Linked DNA regions of Homo sapiens: regions 2 and 3 are each linked to region 1. Evidence: promoter capture Hi-C in human tissues and cell types (Jung and others, 2019). All regions are on one chromosome and are shown on one strand. The core of a region is centred on a gene start or on the middle of the fragment in contact, and the rest is flanking DNA. Distances in the headings are between cores, read along the strand shown.

The links. Contacts are between HindIII fragments. The study calls those that stand out against the background at their distance.
Region 2: a fragment that was not itself captured here is called in contact with the fragment with the promoter of RNF183 in region 1 in 4 of the 25 tissues and cell types used here (aorta, liver, ovary and 1 more).
Region 3: a contact is called between a fragment that was not itself captured here and the fragment with the promoter of RNF183 in region 1, in 1 of the 25 tissues and cell types used here (liver).

Annotation. Positions count from the first base shown.
Region 1 is chr9:113,300,403-113,305,257 of GRCh38, forward strand. It overlaps RNF183 (ring finger protein 183), which reads right to left and starts at 2,974. Exons shown (of 5, transcript NM_001371237.1): 1 at 2,654-2,974; 2 at 1,793-1,911; 3 at 1,270-1,349. The HindIII fragment of the contact is 15,296 bases long and covers 2,299-4,855 here.
Region 2 is chr9:113,247,504-113,252,358 of GRCh38, forward strand. All of the region lies in intron 1 of SLC31A1 (solute carrier family 31 member 1), which reads left to right. All of the region lies in intron 1 of LOC107987119 (a long non-coding RNA gene), which reads right to left. Among named protein-coding and RNA genes, the nearest start is that of CDC26, 26 kb to the right of the region's middle. The HindIII fragment of the contact is 7,964 bases long and covers 1-4,855 here.
Region 3 is chr9:113,267,654-113,272,508 of GRCh38, forward strand. CDC26 (cell division cycle 26) reads right to left here. Exons shown (of 4, transcript NM_139286.4): 3 at 4,774-4,855. The coding sequence starts at 4,854. Among named protein-coding and RNA genes, the nearest start is that of CDC26, 5.5 kb to the right of the region's middle. The HindIII fragment of the contact is 5,691 bases long and covers 75-4,855 here.

The DNA.
Region 1 (4,855 bases), core at 1,724-4,223:
GTAGTGAGGCAAAAAGACATTTAATGAATAATGGGCAATAAATAAATACACAATTTTAATGGTTGTTAATAAAGGGCAAAAAGGAAAATGGGCTTCGGGTGCTTGGTGGCTGCTCCCAATGAGACCACCAGAGAAGGTTTCTGCAAAGAGATGACAGAAGAGCTGAGACCAAAGTATATAGGAATCCAGCCACGCACAGTGGAGGAAGAGCGTTGCAGGCCCAGGGAACAGCATGTGTGGCCCCGAGGTGAGAAAAGCTCTTCCAATTTGAGAAAGTGAAAGGAGCCCAGGGTGATCAAGGTGTGGTGACCGGAGTAGGCAAGGTGGGAGGGTATAGTACTCGGGACCTGTGAACTCAGGAGCTCATCTGGATTTTATTCCAGGGGTGAGCGGTAGGGTAAGGTACCTGATCCTATTTCCATTTTTAAAACACCATTCTAGCTGCAGAGCAGAGGACAGGCTGAGAGGGATAAGATCGGGAAGGGAACACCCGTTCGGGCTGCAGCAGTGTGGCTCAGGCGTGTGATGGTGGTGCAGGTTAGGCAGTGGCAGAGGAGATAAAAGGGGATGGGATAAGTGATATCTTTGGGGACAGAATCAAAGCCACTTCCCAAGAAGCAGTGGAGTTCTAGGGATCCAGTTGTAGTTTCTGTCAAGGTTCATGATGCCAGATCCATGGCTATTTAGGGCTGTGATTCCAGTTGAATTGCTTGACCTCTCTGTGCCTCTATTTCTCCTTGTGCAAAGGAAGCCAAAACTAGTAAAGCTTTTAGTTAGAGCCCAGCACCCAGTAAAGACCACAAAGCAATGCATGACCTAAAAATGGGACTATGTTCTCAGAAACACATCGTTGTATGAACAGCACAGAGAGTATTTACACAAACCTAGATGGTAGAGCCTGCTACATGCCTAGGCTATACGGTCTAGCCTGTTGCTCCTAGGCTACAAACCCATACAGCTTATTATGTTCTGAACACTGTAGGCAATTGTAACACAATGATAATTGCGTGTGTCTTTCAACATAAACTTAGAAAAGGCAAGGTAAATATATGGTATTATAATCTTAGGTGGCCACCATCACATATGTAATTCACTGTTGATCAAAACATTGTTATGGATATATGAGGCAGTTGAAATTATTAATGCAAATGGATTTGAGAGAAAGGAAGGGTCAAGGTTGATTTCAAAGCCGTGACAAAGTCCTCTGCATCAAGCTTTGAGAAGCCCCTGAATCCCAGAGTGTGTTAGAAGCAGATCTTTAATACTTACCAGAGGCCGTAAACTGTATGTAACCTTGACTCATCATTTCCCCCACTGGGAATCGATTCCACGGAAACCATCAAGGACTTCTGCAAAGATGTGAGTAAAGAGATGCCCATCCAGGCGCTGGTTTAACGGTGACGTATGGAGAACTACGTCATCATCCAGTAATAGGACATTGATTAAGTAGATTCTGCTCCATCCATAGGAAGAGATATTATGCAGCCTTTAATATGATGTGGTAAAACTATTAATATGGATATATACCTAGGATATAATGTCATTAAGCGAAAAAGAACCAGCAACAAAACCATATTACCATATAATCCAATTTCCAAAAGTGTGTGTGCAATGGAAAAAATGTCTGGAGAGATAAACAACCAGATATTAGCAGTGGTTATCTCTGGGGGCAAGATTATAAGTTTTTTTTTTTTTTTTAATTCTCTTACCTGAAAATTCTAACTTTACTCCATCCAGTAAGCTTGTATTACTACACGTCAAGATCTCCTGTTTCCCCCCAAATCAGACCTACCTTCTCTGAAGTTCCATGGCCAGAACTGTAAAAGGCTGTCCAAGAGGAGGAAGCATCATTATTGCCTGGATCTTTATCTGTGCTGCTCTCCCAGGGATCCACTGCTGTTTCAGGATCAGCTGGGGAGAGATTCTGGCCATGTATCACCTCCACCCCAAGCCAGGACATCTCAGCTACAGTAAATCCTAAACACCGCCCCAAAGTCATCTCCTTGGTCTATGAACAAGTCATCGCCAAATATCAATTGTCCCCAGCATCACTCCATTGTTTTCAACCAAGAACTGGCATTTCCATAGCACTTCACAGTTTACAAAGGGCCCTGGCCCTTGCTAAGATCTAAGTGTGGTGATCCATCTAGATAGGTTACTAGCCTTTTGGGATTTTTTGTTGTTGTTTGCAGAAAGCCATTTGATACTCTAAAACCACCCTGTGAGAGAGGCTGAATGGGGAGTAGAAAGGTGCCGGCTTTGGAACCAGATTTGGAACAATTTGTCTTGGACAAATGGCTTAACCTCTCTGAACTTCATTTTCCTCTGTAAAAAAGGCTAATCATCCCACTCCTACAAGGTTGCTCTGGGGAAGGAATAGTCTATACGGTGCCCAGTAGAATACGGAAGGCGCTCAATACAGAGTTAGCATGATTATTTTTAGACCCATTTTCTAGATGGGGAAGCCAAGGCTCAGAAGGGTGAGGCAACTTGCCGAAGTCTTCCCAGCTAAAGAGTGGCTGAGTTTGAAAGATGAACCCAGTAGCCTGCCCTCCCAGGCCAGAGTTCACCTGTCGCGCGCTGCACGGCTGCTGCCTCTCTGGACTCTGGAGCCCTGTGACCCGTCCCTCCGCGACCCTCTCTGTCTCCTTACCTGCTCCCTCGGAGCCGCCTCCTCCGCCTCCGTTCGTGCAGCCCTGCACGCATGTGCTTTGTTTTCTGACTTCCCAGGCCCGATTTCCAGGTAGCGTGGGTGGGTCTTATTTGCATAGGTCTTAGCAGCGTTTGGCCAGCTCTCGCTGTTTCAGGTTTTCTTCTTCCTTCTGGTGACTTTGGACCTCCTGTACACCCTGGAAGCTTTGGTTGCTTTGTCTTTCTCCTGTGAGTCACTCTGGCTTTTTCTCTGAGGGGATCAAGTGCGCTCATCCTTGCAGGCCTCTGTTCTGGGTCCGATTGATCTCCTGCCATCCCCTCGGATTCCACTGTCCTCTGTGCGCTGACCTGCCTCGACTCCTGGCTTCTGCCGAGATGGATCCTTCCCTATGCTGAGTCCCTGTAACCAAAATACAGATAGCTCTTGCAAAATACTGACAAAAGCGGCCACTAATACAGCAGAAAAATAGTCGGGAGACGGTTGAGCGTCTGCCTGAAGAGCCAGGGTTCTCAAGCAAGGCACACTTCTAGGTCAGAGTTCAGCCCTCACTGAGAATCCAAACTCCGTTTAACTACCGATGGAGACTTGAGCAAATTAATTAACTTCTGCCAGCCTCAGTTTCCTCACCTGAAAATGGCCATAATAACCTACCTACTTGATCTGTAGATTAAATGAGGTAATACGTGTCGAGATCGCGTAATAACACAGGGCCTGGCAGACAGTAACTCGCTAAATGTTAACCAGAACTATTATTGTTATAACCGGTCTGTTCACGTGGCCCATCTTTTGTTCCCGCTCAAATTCTTTTTGTACCTATGGTCCTCTTTTCTTTCTCTCTCTCTTTCTTTCTTTTTTTTTTTCTTTCTTTTTTTTTTTTTTTTTTAAGACGTAGTTTTGCTCTGTCGCCCAGGCTAGAGTGCAGTGGGGCGATACTGGCTCACTGTAACCCCCACCTCCCTGGTTCCAGCAATTCTCCTGCCACGGCCTCCCGAGTAACTGGGACTACAGGTGCGCGCTACCATGCCCGGCTAATTTTTACATTCTTAGTAGAGACAGGATTTCGCCTTGTTGGCCAGGCTGGTCTCAAACTCCTGACCTCAGGTGATCCACCTGCCTCGACCTCCCAAAGTGCTGAGATTACAGGCATGAGCCACCGCGCCTGGCCCCTTATTTCTTTACTGACATTTTCAGCCATACTTGAGAAATAAACAAGTAAATAAATGTATCTGCTTGGTGATGTAATCAAATGCCCTAGTCCCCGCATTTTGTGTTTTTTTACATTAATTTTTATGTATTGATTTATTTTGAGACAGAGTCTCACTCTATCATCCAGGCTGGGGTGCGGTGGCACGATCACAGCTCACTGCAGCCTCAACCTCCTGGGGTCAAGCAGTCTTCCCACCTCCGCCTCCTGAGTACCTAGGACTACAGGTGCATGCCACCGTGGCTGGCTAATTTTTGTATTTCTTGTAGAGATGGGGTTTCTCCAGGTTGCCTAGGCTGGTCTCAAACTCCTGGGCTCCAGCAATCCACTTGCCAAAAGTGCTAAGATTACACTTGAGCCACCGTGCCCACATTTGATTTTTAAATAGGTAATATATTTACATGGTTGAGCATGTGAATGGTTTGATTTCACAGTGAAAACTGTCTCTTCGCAGCCACCTAGTTTCCCTGGAAATCAAAGTATTATACTATCAGTTTGTTGTGTATCTTTCCAAAGATGTTTTATACATACACAAACAGCATGTCCATGGCAAAACATCTATGTATTCCTTTACCTCCTTTTTACACAAATGTGCATATTATGTACACTGTTCTGCATTTTTCTTTTTTCATTTGATGATGTATTTGAGATATCATTCTGTATTAGTACATAAAGACCTTCTTCGGTTTTTGGCCCAGCGCTGTGACTCACACCTGTAATCCCAGCACTTTGGGAGGCCAAGGCGGGTGGATCACTTGAGGTCAGGAGTTCAAGACCAGCCTGGCCAACATGGTGAAACCCCGTCTCTACTAAAAATACAAAAATTAGCCGGCGTCATGGTGCACACCTGTAGTCCCAGCTACTCAGGAGGCTGAGGCAGGAGAATCGCTTGAACCTGGGAGGCAGAGGTTGCAGTGAGCTGAGATTGTACCACTGCACTCCAGCCTGGGCGACAGAGCAAAAAAAAAAAAAGAAGACCTTCTTCGGTTTTTTAATGG
Region 2 (4,855 bases), core at 1,351-3,850, 53 kb before region 1:
TCAGAATAGGCATCAGAATTTAGCCGTCTTGCTAATTCCCTAACTTCTGACCATAAATTCATATGTATTTTTGTTAAACATATTAGATTTTACAGACTGTGTCTGTCTTGCAGGTGATGGGGCAGGTACAGGGAAAACTTTTTTGATAATCTTCAGAGGTTGACTGTGAAACACTCTTGACTATAAGGAGGTTTTGAAAGCTGTTTGGAAAAATATCATACCATACTTATTAAATGGGGGAGAGGGGAAAGCAACAGAAGTGCTGAGCTCTTCAACAGTCAATATAGCATTTACTGTTTCCTATATTTAATAGCATTCAGAACAATAGAAACAAGTTGGCACATAGCCAACTTCAGGTACCTAACTGAAGATAAATGTTCCCTAGAAACTGAATAGTTTAAAGCCTTCCTGAGAAAGAAACTCCTTTTATTAACTATTTTATGTGAACTAAATTCCACATAAACTCCTGCTTAATTTTTTAAAATAGTCAATTCCTAGACCATTTCTCATCTTCCTTAATGATCCAAGAAGATGGCCAGGCATGGTGGCTCACGCCTGTAATCCCAGCATTTTGGGAGGCTGAGGCAGGCAGATCACCTGAGGTCAGGAGTTCCAGAGCAGCCTGGCCAACATGGCGAAACCCCGTTTCTGCTAAAAATACAACAAAAAAATTAGCCAGGTGTGGTGGTGTGCACCTGTAGTCCCGGCTACTTGGGAGGCTTAGGCAGGAGAATCACTTGAACTCAGGAGGCGGAGGTTGCAATGAGCTGAGATTGTGCCACTGCACTCCAGCCTGGGTGACAGAGACTCTGTCTCAAAAAACAAACAAACAAACAAACAAAAATCCAAGATTTCTGTGCTAGAAGGAAGAGCTCTTATGAACTATTCACATGAGTGTTCATAGCCACTTCATGGTCTCAGGAAATCAGGACAGGCAGAAAGATACTTGAAAGCAGTCCTTTTTTTTTTTTTTTTTTTTTTTTGAAACAGAGTTTTGCTCTTGTTGCCCAGGCTGGAGTGCAATGGTGCAGTCTCAGCTCACTGCAACATGGCCTCCCAGGTTCAAGTGATTCTCTTGCCTCAGCCTCCCAAGTAGCTAGGATTACAGGTGCCCGCCACCACACCCGGCTAATTTTTGTAATTTTGTAATTTTTTAGTAGAGATGGGGTTTCACTATGTTGGCCAGGCTGGTCTCAAACTCCTGACCTCAAGTGATCCTCCCACCTTGGCCTCCCAAAGTGCTGGGATTATAGGCATGAGCCACTGTGCGCAGGCTTGAAAGTAGTCTTGACGCAAATACTTTGTAGGAGAGAAGCTAACAGACAAGTCAAGGGTTGTCTTAATAAAGTCAAGTGAGGAGAGAAACCCAGCTAATATTTTGATTAATGCCTTCTCCCACAAAGTTCACTCATTGGATTTTCCCTACTCAAGTTCTTTTATCCCCTAATATTCCACATAATGATAATAGCTGCCATTTATCAGGTACTTTGGTAGATGCTTTATGTATGTTATCTCATATAATCCTCCCAAGAATCCTCCAAGTTGTACAGGCTGGAAACCAGCTCCAGAAAGGCTAAGTAACTTTCCCAGGACATACAATCAGATCACCTTCTTTTTCTTTTAAAATTCACCTTCACCTTCCAAATTCTTTTTACAGATGTGTTCCAGTTAGGTAGTTAAGTCCTGTCACTCCGTTATTCTAATGCAAAGGTGATTCTCCAGTATTGCAAAGATGATTCTCCAGTATTGAACGATTTTGAATTCTGTTAAAGAAAACTAGTATACCTCAATTGGCAAAAAAAAAAAAAAAAAAGTAAATGAAAGGGCAGTACAGTAATTCTAATCTTTCTTTGTTTTTTTTTTATTTTTTTATTTTTTTTGAGATGGAGTTTTGCTCTCATTGCCCAGGCTGGAGTGCAATGGCAGGACCTTCCCTCACTGCAACCCCCACCTCCCGGGTTCAAGCAATTATCCTGCCTCAGCCTCCCAGGTAGTTGGGATTACAGGCACGCACCACCATGCCCAGCTAATTTTATATTTTTAGTAGAGATGATGTTTCACTATGTTGGTTAGGCTGGTCTCGAACTCTTGACCTCAGGTGATCCACCCACCTTGGCCTCCCAAAGTGCTGAGATTACAGGCGTGAGCCACCACACCCGGCCACAGTAATTCTAATCTTTCTACCCTAGTTATAAGCTCAACTTGGTAAATAAAATATTTTAGGTAGATTTTATCATAGATTAAAGGTTAGGAAAATTTTCGCAACCTACTCATCTGACAAAGGGCTAATATCCAGAATCTACAATGAACTCAAACAAATTTACAAGAAAAAAAACAGACAACCCCATCAAAAAGTGGGCAAAGGACATGAACAGACACTTCTCAAAAGAAGACATTTATGCAGCCAAAAAACACATGAAAAAATGCTCACCATCACTGGCCATCAGAGAAATGCAAATCAAAACCACAGTGAGATACCATTTCACACCAGTTAGAATGGCAATCATTAAAAAGTCAGGAAATAACAGGTGCTGGAGAGGATGTGGAGAAATAGGAACACTTTTACACTGTTGGTGGGACTGTAAACTAGTTCAACCATTGTGGAAGTCAGTGTGGCGATTCCTCAGGGATCTAGAACTAGAAATACCATTTGACCCAGCCATCCCATTACTGGGTATATACCCAAAGGACTATAAATCATGCTGCTATAAAGACACATGCACACATATGTTTATTGCGGCATTATTCACAATAGCAAAGACTTGGAACCAACCCAAATGTCCAAAAATGATAGACTGGATTAAGAAAATGTGGCACATATACACCATGGAATACTATGCAGCCATAAAAAATGATGAGTTCATGTCCTTTGTAGGGACATGGATGGAATTGGAAATCATCATTCTCAGTAAACTATCGCAAGAACAAAAAACCAAACACCGCATATTCTCACTTATAGGTGGGAATTGAACAATGAGAACACATGGACACAGGAAGGGGAACATCACACTCTGGGGACTGTTGTGGGGTTGGGGGAGGGGGGAGGGATAGCACTGGGAGATATACCTAATGCTAGATGACAAGTTAGTGGGTGCAGTGCACCAGCATGGCACATGTATACATATGTAACTAACCTGCACATTGTGCACATGTACCCTAAAACTTAAAGTATAAAAAAAAAAAACTTCAAAAAAAAAAAAGGAATCCTAAGGGTTTTTTTATTGTTTGTATTTCAGTTCTGTCCCTGAGTTATATATTCAGATTTTTTTGGTTAGTATTTGTAATGGTGGTGAGAACTGGTAGGCATTTGGGTCATTAGGGATCCACCCTCATGAGTAAATTAATGTCCACTCTCAGGAGTGAGTGAGTTATTGCTCTCATAGGAATGGATTCGTTCCTGCAAGATTGGGTTGCTATAAAGTGAGCCCGTGTCTCTTTGCACATGCCCACTTGCCTTTCTGCTTCTCTGCCAGAAGCCCCAAAGATGCTGGCACCATGCTCTTGGACTGTCCAGTCACCAGAATCATGAGGCAAATAAACCTCTTTTCTTTATAAATTACCCAGCCTGAGGTATTCTGTTATAGCCACACAAAACAGATTTAGACAGTATTCTTCTTTACAAATAATTTGTAAATTTGGCCTGGCATGGTGGTTCATGCCTGTTATGCCAGCACTTTGGGAGGCCAAGGTGGGCAGATCATTTGAGGTCAGGAGTTCAACACCAGCCTTGCCAACATGGTGAAACCTCATCTCCACTAAAAATAAAAAATTAGCTGGGCATGGTGGCACATGCCTGTAATCCCAGCTACTAGGGAGGCTGAGGCTGGAGAATCGCTTGAACCTGAGAGGTGGATGTTGCAGTGAGCCAAGATGGCACCACTGCACTCTAGCCTGGGTGACAGAGTGAGACTCTATCTAAAAAAATAAAAAATAAAAAATAAAAATAGAGCAAAGATTGTATGACCCTGGATTTTAACTTATTGTTACATGAGTACCCATTTTTATTTTGGAAGAAGCTGAGCTTAAGTCAGATTAAAGCTACCAAAGGAAACAGGCTAAAAAGAACCAATGCTAGTTTACCTCCTGTAAGTTGAATTTCTATTCTAGAGAGAATGGGTTAGGTGTGTTCGATTGCTTTAGAAGATAACTTATCCAAATACATACAGCACATCACTGAAAATTTAAGTGGGAAGAGAAAAAAATATAATCACTTTTATTTATTATGCTTTAATAATTAATTTGTAAGTTTTAACTTTTTTGATGTAATTTAGCTTTGGCATATTCCCGTGGGATCTTTTCCTAAAATAAAGCTTTTAGTGAGCGTAAGGACTTATCAGGATTGGTTTGTGTTTGAGCCTACAGTGTATGTTTATATATTAATCTCCACCGGCTTTGTATCTTCCTATTCATACACCATTCGGTAAGCCTTGCATAGGATTCCATTACAATATATCCATTGTCTACTGACAATGAGAGCAAGTAGATTCTGCTCTTGTTCTATCTCCTAGTATATTTGGATGTGAAATATATCCTGCACAAATGACACTTCAAAACAGGTGCATACTTTGAAAGGTTTTCTTGGGATTTGTATATACCTTGCCCTGGGTCACTGATATGTCTGAAGAGATTTGATAATGTGGCATCATTGAGTAGATTTCTCTAATTGATAATGAGGGACCTGAATAATTAAGAACCTGTGGGTCTTCAAAATTAGTTCATGGTAATAATTAATGTTATAAAGGTTCATCAAGGAAATCATCAAGGTTACAACTTTTAGATAGTTTGTGGTACTATAGTCCTGCTTTTTTTTGAGATGGAGTCTCGGTCTGTCACGCAGGCTGGAGTGCAATGGCAC
Region 3 (4,855 bases), core at 1,670-4,169, 33 kb before region 1:
ACTAGCCTGGCAAACATGGTGAAACCCTATCTCTACTAAAAATACAAAAATTTGGCGGGGCACGGTGGCTCACATCTGTAATCCCAGCCCTTTGGGAGGCTGAGGCGAGCGGATCACGAGGTCAGGAGATCGAGACCACCCTAGCCAACATGGTGAAACTCCATCTCTACTAAAAATACAAAAATTAGCTGGGCATGGTGGCGCATGCCTGTAATCCCAGCTACTTGGGAGGCTGAGGCAGGAGAATCGCTTGAACCAGGAAGTCGGAGGTTGCAGAGAGCTGAGATGGTGCCACTGCACTCCAGCCTGGCGACAGAGCGAGACTCTGTCTTAAAAAAAACAAAAGATGTAACCCCTACCCTCCAGGATGTCACAGTCTAATAGGGAAACAGGCAAACAGACGATTATAGGGTGATCAGGGCTATGACCTATGACAGAGAGAAGTCTACACTGCCAAAGAGACAAGAGGTAAGGAGTTGGGGTGTGGTGGTACAACAGGAAGCTACAATTGGAAAGCTGTAAGAGCAGACAAGTGAGAGCAAAGGGCATTTCAACAAATTTATTATTCTAGAGAATAGAAAAATAAATTGGGTAAAGAAATAACCACCAAAAATCTATAGCCTGACTGATCCCATGAGATTAAAAGTAACTCAAGAAGGTTTTATGCTATCTTATCAAAAGGTCTGGGTTTTGTGGCTTCATTTTGTTTTCAGATAAAAGGTTTGGCTCCTAAGTCACATGTGACTGCAGAATCCAGAAAGTATGTCTTAGTTTGATCATTTTCAAAAACAGACACTTATCCCATAACAGCCACTACCTGACTGTAAGGATAACAGATGATAACTTTCTCTAAGAGAGTGAAATGATGTTTTATCCAAAGTTACTTAATAGAAGAATGGCTCAGCTACTCAAATCACTGGAATTACCACCATTCTTCACCACTTGCTGCTGAACTGTGGGCATTTAAATGCCAAGCATCAGGCTGACCGCAGTGGCTCATGCCTGTAAATCCCAGTGCTTTGGGAGGCCAAGGCGGAGGATTGCTTGAGCCCAGGAGTGTGACACTAGCCTGGGCAACATAGTGACACTCCATCTGTCTCCACAATTTTTTTTTTTTCTTTAGACTGAGTCTCTGTCTGTTGCCAGGCTGGAGTGTAGTGGCGCCATCTTGGCTCACTGCAACCTCCGCCTCCTGGGTTCAAGCGATTCTCCTGCCTCAGCCTCTCAAGTAGTTGGGACTACAGGCGCATGCCAGCACACCTGGCTAATTTTTGCACTTTTAGTAGAGACAGGGTTTCAACATGTTAGCTAGGATGGTCTCAATCTCTTGACCTCGTGATCCGCCTGCCTCGGCCTCTCAAGGTGCTGGGGTTTACAGGCATGAGCCACCGCACCCGGCCCACAAAAAAATTTAAAAATTAGCCAGGCATGGTGGCGCATGCCTGTATTCCCAGTTATTCAGGGGGCCTGATGTGGTAGGATCACCTGAGCCTGGCAGGTCAAGGCTGCAGTGAGCTGTGATCATGCCACTGTACTCCAGCCAGGGCGACAGAGCAAGACCCTGTCTCAACAATAAAAATAAAAAAAAAAAATAAATGCCAACACTCACAAAGTATTACAGGGAATAAAATAAGGTATTGCCTTTTATGTGGCAAATGACCTTCCTGATTACTAGTAAGTGATGTTAGAAAGTTCTACCTAAATACCTTTGTGAAAACAAGTTCGAAAAGGCAAACAACTCTATCATTCTGAGAATATCCAAATGGAATGAAATCACTTAAAAGGCTTCCCACTTTGAGCAACTGCTGTTTCAGAAGCTAGAGTCACAGTAGTATAATCAAACTCATGTTGGTAATAAATGAAACAGGCCAGTTTTCTACTGGTTTCACTTTAGGGCATGACTGTCCCTGCTTCCTAAGTTACTCTAAAACAAGGTAAAACCCACTAGATAACTGTCTTTAGTGGAAAGACTAACTCAATAGTGAGCTGACTGTAGAGTCAAAGTTCAGCATGCTAGCATTTTATGAGATTCGTTACAACTGAAGTTTAAGCCATACTTTAAAGCTCATGCTTAATAATATATGAGTTTTTAGAAAGCAAAAATTACGATACTTAGAGAACACTAAAGTCTCTTGGGATGAAGCAGGGGGAAAGAAATCTAAGTTATTAGTCTTAATATGAAGCATATACAATACATAATAAAGCTGTTGGTGAATATATGCAAAACGTACTGTCCTCTGCCATATAGTACAAGATACCTACTAGGACAGCAAATGAAAATAGACTTGCATTGAGCCCTCCTTTGGACCTGGTATTGCAGGGAACAGATGCAGAGAGAAATATACTAATCCCTGACTTCAAGGAGCTTATGGCCCAGTGAGGGAAAACAAAAGCAAACAGACAATTACAACAGAGAGTGACCGTGCCTATGAGAGAGGTTAGCACAGGAGGATAAGGTTGAGCCTAACCCAGCTGGGGGCTGGAAGGAGTAAGAGTTAGCCTGGCAAAGAAAAAGAAAGGGCTTTTCTGGCAAAGGGAACACTGTGTATAGGCACTGAGATTAAAGATAACCCAGCAGTGAAAGTGGAGAGATAAGCAAGGACCAGCTCACAAGGAGCTCATATGCCATGCTAGGGAATTTGGAATTTATTCTGTAGACCACTGAAGAATTTAAGTCTTATTAATGGACATCTAATACCATGTAGCAAGGCCACAGTTAAAAATACATATGGGGCCCCTACTATGAACTAGATGGTAAGAACTCAATGGTGAAGCAAACAGACATGATTTCTGCAATCAACGTCCCTAATGTAAATGATTTTACAATAAAAAAAATTGTAAATTATAATAAATGCTATGAAAAAAATATGGTGCTTTGTGAGAGCCTACAGAGATGGAGGCAGCATGGACGGGAATGACACATGAAACTTGGATACGGTCAAAAGTGGCCTCTTAAATTGAAGAGTTGACATTTGAATGAAGACTGGAAGAAAGGGAGCACTCCAGGCAGGGGGAAATAATATGTGGAAAGTCCATGGAAGTGATAAATAGATTGGCATGTTCAAGGAAATGAAAGAGAGCCAATGTGGCTAGGGTATAGAGAGCAAGGCAAAGAATGGCACAAAATGAATCTGGAGAGGCACTAGAACATACAAAATCTTGTAGGCCATGGTGAAGAATTCAGATTTTGTTATAAGTGCAGAAAACTACTGAGGAGTTTTAAACGGGAATGACAGGATTTGAAAATTTCTGAAGATCATTCTTGATACTGGATGCAGAATGCACTGAAAGAGACAAAAATGGAAGTAGAAGACCAGTTAGGATGCCACTACAATTATACAGGGAAAGACGGTTACTTAGCGCAGGACTGTAACAGTGGAGATGAAAAGGTATGGGTGGATTCCAGACATATTCTGAAGGTAGAATCAAAGGGTCTACAGACAGATCGAATATAAAGCGTAAGAGAAAGGGAGGACTCAGGAATGACTGCTAGGTTTCTGGCCTGAGGAACTGAATCAATACTGAGATGGGAAACACTGGGGAAGAATGGAAGGGACGACTGGTTCAAGGGAGAAATCAAGAGTTTTTCTCTCTTCTTTTTTTAACATGTTAAGTGTAGTAGGCTGAAAAATGGCCCCCAAAGCTAGCAGGTCCTAATCCTGGAACCTATAAATGCCTTATATGGGAAAAGGGCCTTTGCAGGTGTGACTAAATTAAGGATCTTGAGAAGGGGGGATTATCCTGGGTTAGTCAGGTGGGCCCTAAACACAATCACACATATCATAAGAAGGAGGCAGAGGAAGTTTTCACAGACAGAAAAGAAGACAATATGACTCTGGAGGCAGAGACTGGAGTGATACAGTCATGAGTCAAGGAATGCCAGCAGCCACCAGAAGCTAGAAGAGCCAAGGAATGGATTCTTCCCTAGATCCTCCATAGGGAATGTGGCCCTCCTGACACCTAAATTTCAGCCCAGCAATACTAATTTTTGGCCTATAAAACTGTGAAATAATAAATTTCTGTTGTCTTAAGCGATGAAGTTTGTGGTACTTTGTTACAGCAGCCACAGGAGACATACATGAAGTTTGAGATGCCTGTAAAGCATCCAAACAGAGATTTCAAATAAGCTGTTGGCTTAAGAGTCTGCAGTTCAGAAGTTAAAGTTATTGTGTATGTATGTGTGTGTATATACATATTTATGTATGACAGAGAGTCTCACTGTTGCCCAGTGTGGAGTACAGTGGAGCCATCATAGCACACTGTAACCTCAAACTCCTGGGCTCAAGCAATCCTCCCGCCTCCGCCTCCTGAGTAGCTCAGGCATGCGCCACCCTGCCCAACATAGAGACAAGGTCTCACTATGTTGCCCAGGCTGGTCTCAAACTCCTGGCCAGAAAATGCTGGCATTACAGATGTAAGCCACTGTGCCCACACAAGAATTATTATCTTAAATATTCCTTAAGCTTTGAAAGTTGTATTCATGGCTGGGTGCAGTGGCTCACGCGTGTAATCCCAGCACTTTGGGAGGCTGAGGTGGATGGATCACTTGAGGTCAGGAGTTGAGACTAGCCTGGCCCCAACATGGCAAAACCCCAACTCTACTAAAAATAAAAAAATGAGCTGGGCGTGCTGGCATGAACCTGTGGTCCCAGCACGCGGGAGGCTGAGGCAGAGGAGGCAGAGGTTGCAGTGGGCCAAGATCATGCCACTGTACTCCAGCCTGTGTGACAGAGCGAGACTCCATCTCAAAAAAACACAAAGTTGTATTCATACCTCCAGGTCCTTTCGAATGTTCTCAAACTCTTCAATGTCATCAAGCTTTAGCTCTAGGCGTGTTGGTTTCCGTCTCAGCATA